2 separate regions of the Homo sapiens genome follow, and region 2 is linked to region 1. The links are contacts of gene promoters, found by promoter capture Hi-C in human tissues and cell types (Jung and others, 2019). All regions are on one chromosome and are shown on one strand. The core of a region is centred on a gene start or on the middle of the fragment in contact, and the rest is flanking DNA. Distances in the headings are between cores, read along the strand shown.

Evidence for each region. Contacts are between HindIII fragments. The study calls those that stand out against the background at their distance.
Region 2: a contact is called between the fragment with the promoter of CD79B here and the fragment with the promoter of CSH2 in region 1, in 1 of the 25 tissues and cell types used here (mesenchymal stem cells).

Annotation. Positions count from the first base shown.
Region 1 is chr17:63,871,615-63,875,710 of GRCh38, forward strand. It overlaps CSH2 (chorionic somatomammotropin hormone 2), which reads right to left and starts at 2,063. Exons shown (of 5, transcript NM_020991.4): 1 at 1,991-2,063; 2 at 1,565-1,725; 3 at 1,221-1,340; 4 at 963-1,127; 5 at 402-709. The coding sequence starts at 2,000. The coding sequence ends at 512. The HindIII fragment of the contact is 22,462 bases long and covers 1-4,096 here.
Region 2 is chr17:63,929,901-63,933,996 of GRCh38, forward strand. CD79B (CD79b molecule) reads right to left here and starts at 2,431. Exons shown (of 6, transcript NM_000626.4): 1 at 2,295-2,431; 2 at 1,435-1,485; 3 at 174-485. The coding sequence starts at 2,361. RefSeq lists a silencer at 1,281-1,350 and enhancers at 2,048-2,437, 2,411-3,081, 2,938-3,047, 3,058-3,107, 3,681-4,096 and 2 more. The HindIII fragment of the contact is 19,928 bases long and covers 1-4,096 here.

The DNA.
Region 1 (4,096 bases), core at 813-3,312:
CACAAGTAATTCTATGCCATTGTTTCCTCACCTGTTGGGGAGTTTTTGCCTCTGCACTTAATAGCCCATCTTGTTTTCATTTCTTCCCGCTCCTGGAGGGCTAGGTTTGGTGTTGCTGGTGATGGTGGGGGAGGAAGAAATGCCTTCAAGTCATCTCTGGGATGACCAATGAGCTGTGACCAGCAAGCTGGGACCACTGAGCTGGTGGAATGGCCTTAGTGAGTAATAGCGGTGATGTGTCAGCCTTTTTCTGGCCCAGGAACAGCCAAGCCTCTTATATTTCAGCGGCCTAGTTCCCAATAGACCTTGAAGGCCCTCCAGGTCTTCTTTCCACCTACCCCTTGCTCCATACCACCACCTTCCACCCCATAATATTATAGAATGACACCTAGTCAGATGAAATGATACAACTTAATTTTATTAGGACAAGGCTGATGGGCACTGGAGTGGCACCTTCCAGGGCCAGGAGAGGCACTGGGGAGGGGTCGGTCACAGGATGCCACGCGGGCACCTAGAAGCCACAGCTACCCTCTACAGAGCGGCACTGCACCATGCGCAGGAATGTCTCGACCTTGTCCATGTCCTTCCTGAAGCAGTAGAGCAGCCCGTAGTTCTTGAGCAGTGCGTCATGGTTGTGTGAGTTTGTGTCAAACTTGCTGTAGGTCTGCTTGAGGATCTGCCCAGTCCGGCGGCTGCCGTCTTCCAGCCTCTGCAAAGTGAAGGAAGAGAAGGAGAGGCCAAGCGCTTGGGCACTGTTCCCTCCCTCTCTCATTCATCCATTTTCCTCCCTCCCCTTCAGGGTGTAGAGAAGGGCCTGGAGGATTCACCAGGCGAAATGAAGAATAAGGTGAGTTCTCTTGGGTCAGCGCCTGACTGCTACAAAGAGGGCAGCAGTGTTTCTCTCCCCCAGCCCTCTAAGCCAGTGGGGTTCCAGGATTGGCGACCCCTGGCGCCACCCTCACCCCCATCAGCGTTTGGATGCCTTCCTCTAGGTCCTTTAGGAGGTGATAGTCATCGCTGTCCGAGGTGTCATACACCAGGTTGTTGGCGAACATACTCCTGAGGAACCGCACGGGCTCCAGCCACGACTCGATGAGCAGCAGGGAGATGCGGAGCAGCTCTAGATTCTGCAGGGGAAGGACCGGCAGTGGCTGTGCTGCCCGGGAGCCCTGACCACAGGTCTCCCCCATCCCCGCCTAGGGGAGACGGCATCCACTCACGGATTTCTGTTGCGTTTCCTCCATGTTGGAGGGTGTCGGAATAGAGTCTGAGAAGCAGAAGGAGGTCTGGGAGTCATGCAGGAATGAATACTTCTGGTCCTTTGGGATATAGGTTTCTTCCTAGGAGAAGGACCCCCCACCAAGAAGGACTGCTGGTTTCTATGCTGGAGACCAGCTCCCATTGTTGCTTTTCTGGGAACCTGGCTCAGCCTATGCTCATCTGCCTGCATTTTCGCTTCAGAAAACAACCCTGAGCTCCTTAGTCTCCTCCCATTACTTCCCCAGTGGGGGAAAGTCACCCCTTCTTGCCACCCCTGACCCGCACCCATTCCCCAAGAACTTACAAACTCCTGGTAGGTGTCAATGGCCAGCTGGTGCGCGCGATGGGCTTGGAGCATAGCGTGGTCAAAAAGCCTGGATAACGGAACGGTTTGGACGGCACCAGCCTCTTGAAGCCAGGGCAGGCAGAGCAGGGCAAAAGCCAGGAGCAGGGACGTCCGGGAGCCTGGGGAGAAACCGGAGGGCAATGGAGGGAGCCGGAGAGGAAGAGGCCAGCGCTCTCCCTGCTCCAGGAGCTGTTTGTTTTTTTCTCTCTCTCCATCCCTCCAGAGACCAGGAACATTCAGAGATTGGCCAAATATCTGGCCTTAGATGGCGATACTCACATTCATAAGCCCCAAACCTGAGGGTTAGTGCCCCCGTCCCATCTACAGGGCGCTGCCTCTCCCCTCAGGACACGTTGTGCCCAAAGGGATTTTAGGGGCGCTTACCTGCAGCCATTGCCGCTAGGTGAGCTGTCCACAGGACCCTGAGTGGTTCGGGGAGTTGGGCCTTGGGATCCTAGAGCCGGTCTCTTGTGGGCCCTTTTTATACCCTGGCCAGTTCTCTCTCCCTGCTTGACCCCACCTGTTTCTGTGTACATTTATGCATGGGGCCACTGACGGGCTTGTGCTAATGGATAATTTGGAAGCTCCTCCCACACATGCTGGGATCATGCCCCCTGGCTTGTCGTCTTTCCCTTCTCACCATCACCAGTGTTGTAAGGATTGTGCACAGAGTGTCAGCCACAGACTCCACCCAACTTGTCCTCTCTTTAAGGGTCAGGTGGGTGCCCTCTGGCCGCAGGCCATGTTGGTCAACCTGAATGCGGGGAAGGCTGTCAGGATAGCCAGTCCTTGAGACCCCTACCGACCCCATTCCACTCTCTATCCTATTCCTTTCCTCCTCCCCGCGTGTTTAACTTCCACCCACCAGACAGAATGTGTGTGTTGGGAAAAGGGGCCAAGCACAGCCAATAGATTGTGGGGGTTCTGAGCACCATTGAGTCCTGAATTCCACTTTTGCTGATGACTCCTGGGCCCACCTGAGTCAGCTGGATGCAGTGCTAACACTGACCACTAGAGAGAACCAACCCCACACATTGCTCTCCCCTTTCCCTGAACCTTGGGGCGGAGGCGGTGGGGCTCCCCCAGGTCACTGGGGACGAAGAACCCAGACTCAAGGTATTGCCTCAGCTCCTTGGACCTGCAGCAGAGACACAAACCAAGAAACAGAAATCCCGGGAACAGACACGGACCACAAGCGCTTCCTCCCACAGCCCTGAAACCATCAGAGAATCTCAAGGTTGGAAGAGCTCTTGAAGATTTGAGTCTCAGGGGAACATCACACTCTGGGGACTGTTGTGGGGTGGGGGGAGGGGGGAGGGATAGCTTTAGGAGATATACCTAATGCTAAATGACAAGTTAATGGGTGCAGCACACCAGCATGGCACAGGTATACACATGTAACTAACCTGCACATTGTGCACATGTACCCTAAAACTTAAAGTAAAAGAATAATAATAATTAAAAAAAAAGAAAAAAAAGATTTGAGTCTCTTCCCAGCTTTGGAACTCAGAACACATCACGCCGAAAGATGCCCTATCCAGCCATGGAAGCCCGTCCTCTTTTGTCTCTTCCTCCTTTCCAGACCTGTGTAGAGCTTATCCAGTTGTCAAAGGCCTGCCTGTGCATTCTCACGTCTGATCTGCCACTTGTCTTGTGTAGGAGGTATGAGTATCATCCCATTTCACAGATCAGGAGACTGAGGCTCAGAGAGACTGATTACATGAGCTACCTCAGCCAGGGCAGCAGATCTCCACAACCTTGCTCTTCCCACATTGCATCATTTAAAGTCCTTTCTCCAGGCCGGGCACGGTGGCTCATGCCTGTAATCCCAGCACTTTGGAAGACTGAGGTGGGTGGATCACTTGAGGTCAGTTCAAGGCCAGACTAGCCAACATGGCAAAACTCCATCTCTTAAAAGTACAAAAGTAGCTGTGTGTGGTGGCAGAAGCCTGCAATCCCAGTTACTCCGGAGGGTGAGGAGGTAGAATCGCTTGAACCCAGGACGCAGAGGTTGCCGTGAGCCAAGATTGGGCCATGGCACTCCAGCCTGGGCGCCAGAGTGAGACTCCATTTCAACAACCACAACAACGACGACAACAACAACAACAACAACAAAAGTCCTTTCTCCAGAGCAGGTGGTGTGGTGCTACTCAGTTATTTAGTTATTTTAGTTTCTTTTCTTTCCTTCTTTCTTTTTCTTTCTTTCTTTCTTTCTTTTCTTTCTTGCTTTCCTTTTTCTTTCTCTTTCTTTCTTTCTTTTTCTTTCTTTCTTTCTTTCCTTCCTTCCTTTCTTCCTTCCTTCCTTCTTTCCTTCCTTCCTTCTTTCTTTCTTTTTCTTTCTTTCTTTCTTTCTTTCTTTCTTTCTTTCTTTCTTTCTTTCTTTCTTTCTTTCCTTCCTTCCTTTCTTCCTTCCTTCCTTCTTTCCTTCCTTCCTTCTTTCTTTCTTTCTTGTTTTTGATGGAGTCTCATTCTGTCTCCCAGGCTGGAGTG
Region 2 (4,096 bases), core at 1,181-3,680, 59 kb after region 1:
GGGTGGGGTTGTGAGCCTGGGCCACAGTCCACCTTTTAGGCCTACAAGGGCAGCTCCCTCAGGTCCCAGTGGCTCTCCTGAGTGCTCTAGGGCCATGACCATCACCACAAGAGGCAGGCCGGGCTAGGGTGGGGCGGACAGCTACAGGAGCGTCCCAGCCACCTGGCACACACCCATGACTCGCAGCTCTGTGCCGCAGCCCTGGTAGACCTCCGAGGTGTTGTTGCACTTCTGCTGACAGAAGTAGATGCCATTGTCCTCAAACCGGATGCCTTGGATGGTGAGGGTGGCGAGAGATTCGTTCTGGGACTCTTCCATGCGGCCCTTTTCCAGCTTCAGCTGCTGGGGATTCTCGTCCATCTCCTGCTTCCAGAGCCAGCTCACATTGCCGGAGGCGCTGTTCATGTAGCAGTGCATTTTCACCGTGAAGCCCCGTTTCCTGGCTATGAAACGTGGGCTCTGCCAGATCCGCGAACAAGCACTACCTGTGGGTGCCAAGGCCAGGCTCAGCATTCCGCTTGGCATCTTCCTGAGTGCCAGCCCCAGCAGCAGGCCCCTGCCCTGGCTGGCACAGACTCCCTGGGCTTAGTCCTTGCTTCTCAGGGTGTGGGACAGGCAGGAGGCTGAGGTTGGAGTTGGGAAGCAGAGCCACGTGAGAGGCTGAGCCACATGAGAAGCCACGGCCAAGCTCTCAGACTCCACCTCTTCCCGACTGCCCCACCTCCCCTTCGATTTTCCTTTGGAAGAGCCCTGGGACCTTGCCATTCCTTCCTATGCCCATTACAACAGCCTGACCCAGGCCACACCCCCAGGACCTGGAGGCCCACAGGCCTGGCCCCTCCTTTCACTGGGCTGCCCTGCACAGGCTTGAAATCCTCAGTCTCCCCCGTTCCTCCAGGGATAAAGGCCAAATTCCTAGTCTGTCAACTGAGACCTTCCTCAGTCGACCCCCTCCCTGCATGACTTCCCTCTATCATCCCCCTCTTCCCTCCTGCAGGGACTGGGTCCACTTCTTGTTCCAGAACCCTCTTTCCAGCTTCGACTGCCTTGTTCTTAGTGAGCACTGCCCGGGAATCCCTGAGCCCCTCACATAGTGACCCTGCACTGGAGGGCTCACCCGAGACTCAGCCAGATTCCCAGCTAGACAGGCCCGGGCCTGAGTCCTAGAGGAACCCCCAGGCTCCCTTGCTATGACCCAGAGTTTAGCCCAGCCCTTCAGTGGCCAAGGCTGGAGGGCATGTGTCTGATGAGGATGACAGTGGGCTGGGGGTGGGGCTCAGAGGAGATCCTAAGGAGGCCTGGGGATGGGAATCCTGGATGGGGAGATCAGGCAAGGGTGGGAAGGCGGACCGCCCCCAGGACAGGGACCATAGTCGGACACAGGACATAGTCGCACACAACTTGCCCTCAGAAGCGGCAGGCGAGGCTACTGACCTTTGGGATTCCGGTACCGGTCCTCCGATCTGGCTGCTGGTACTGGCTCAGCTGCTGGGTGGGAGGAAGTGGGCGGGGCCAGTCAGGGCCTCCTCTGGCCTGGGCTGCCCCACCCCTGCATGCCCTCTATGTTCCCGGAGCTACTTCCTCCTTCCATGACAGCAGCTTCAAGACCCCTCGGTCCTCCCTGCCCCCAGTACTTGGGAGACAGATATGGGGTGGGGGTACCGGAAGCCCTGCCCCCAGCCCCCTTTCTGCCTTTGACCCTCATGGTGGCTTTGAGCAGGCATCTGAATGAGACAGGAGGGACAGGGAAATCTCAGTATTTTGAGAGGCCAAGACAGGAGGATCGCTTGGGTCCAGGAGTTTGAGACCAGCCTGGGCAACATAGGGACACCCTGTCTCTCTTTTTTTTTTTTTTTTTAAAGAGAGACAGGAAGAAAGTCACAGCCCGGAGGATCTTTCACCTCCCAGAGGAGGGGACCACATTTGGATCTTGCATCTTCCAGGGTCCGGTTGGGACAGCCTCTCCCCTCCCGACCCCCAGGCACCGCCCTCAGCCTCTCTTCCTCCTGAGCCTAGTTCTTCCACGGTCCTGGTTGCTAACTCTGGTTTGCTCCTCATGCCCAGCTCAGCCTGATGCTCTCCAGGCAGGAGAGGAACTGGGGCCACAGGCTCCTGAGCCCATCACCACGTGCAGCTGACACCCACAGACCCAGGCCCCAGGGCCATGAGAGGGAGACAGGCGGTAAAGAGTGAGAGACAGAGGAGGAGGGTGGAGCAAGCAGGAGGCAGAGCCGCAGGGCCCAGACAGCTGGAGATGAGAGCAAACCCCACAGGCCTCGTCGTGGGTTCTGTACCTGAGAGCAGCAGCAGCAACGCCACCATCCAGTGGCTGGGCACAGGAGACAACGCCAGCCTGGCCATGGTCACCGCTCTGTCCCCGACCCCAAACCCGTGACAACGTCCGAGGCTCCTTGGAGGAAAACGTGTAACTGCACCGGCTGCAGCCTGTCCCCTCCCCGCCTCTTCCTCACCAGGCCCCTTCCTGCCATGCAAATTGGGACCCAGGGGAGGCACCAGCTCTCCGGGGACCCTGGGGGAGGGCAGGCTTTTGTCAGCTGGGCCGCTAAGGTTTGGCGGTCGCCCAGCTTGGGCAGCACAGCTGGGGTCCTCTGTGGATGCCTCTGGGGGGCCTCTCAGTCTTCTGGGGGAAGCCTGTGCTCCCCTCTGTCTGTGCTTACCCCACCGGTGGTCATCCCCTGGGCCAGCCAGCCTCCCCTCTGCCGTCTGCCAACTCCCCGAAGGGCCGAGCCCGGCAAGTCTCTATTCCTGGGCCGTGAGCGAAATAGGCACCTGTCCTATGAATGAACCTGAACTTAGCTCCTCTGTCCTGAACTATTCCTCACCCAGCGGGAAGAGGAGCACTGAAGAAGGACAGGGCAGCCACAGACCCAGGTCAGGCATCTGGAGGGGCCCAGAGCAGAGCCTCTTGGCTGGAGTGCAGGCAGCCATGTTGGAAGTTGACCCTGTGGAGGATGGGAGCCACAGAGGTTCTGGAGCAAGAGCAGGTCAAGTGTGGCAGCCACTGGGAGAAGATTCAGTCCAGGTCTTGGTGAGAGGCCTCCCTTCCTCATGCTGTGAAAGAGTATGTAGGGGCTGCCAAACAGGGTGGATGTAGGTGGAGACAGCTTTGCGAAAATCCACCACGCAGCCACTGGGGGCTTCTTCAGGGAGTTCTTAACTGTGGGACTCTGAGTGCGTTGAATTGTTGTCTGCAGGTCCAGGGGGTCTTGGGCAGGGAACAGGAGCTGGTGTGGGGGAGCCCTCAGGTCCTCCAGCTGTATCCTGCCTGTCCTCAGAGTGCTGGATGGAGCCACAGTGCTCAGGAACTGATATAAACTCACCTTTGCGCCCCTGCCCCTGGGTCCAATGCAGCCCCTTCAGAGATGCCCTTGTGCAGGGCACAACATGCACAAGTGTACACAGCATGCTTGCAGACCTCAGCCCTGCAGCTGAGCCCTCTGAATTTTATGTTTCCTGGCAGCTTCTTTTTTGTCTCTCATCCTCGACCCCCAGGAGAGGAAGAGATGCTAAATCGTCGGTGCCCTCTGTCCACCTCTCACTCTCCTCACAACCCTCCGTTTTCCAGTCTGTGCTGGGGCAGGTCTGTCTGGATTTAGGGAGAAGCAGAACCACCTCCCATGCCATGGTTGGAAGGCAGAGGGTCTGGGTGGTCCCTCTTTAGATCTTGGCCTAGGCCTCGGACCTGATAAGGTGGGGGCCACTCTCAAGGGGTGCAGGCCAGGACCTGAGCCACGGAAGTCAGGGGCAGGAGGGTTAAGGTTTCATCCGAGGAACAGCCCGTTCCGGGCAGCCCCAGATGTTCTTTCTTGTTTCCAGATGTTCCAAATGAAAAAACATTTCTCTGAAAAGCTGTCAGATGTTCAGTTCATGGAATAAACAGCTCAGAAATATAAACATCACCTGAGGTCAGCTTGAGGCCCATGGGCCCGCATGCTGGTGAGGGTGGCTGGAGAGAGACTGACCCGGGGGGAGTGGGGCAAAATCTGGGAGTCTCATGGTTTAGGAAATACTCTTCCTGAGCCCCTAACGACAGAGTCCTTCATTAACTTTGGGGCTAGTGTCTCCCCAAAGTTGG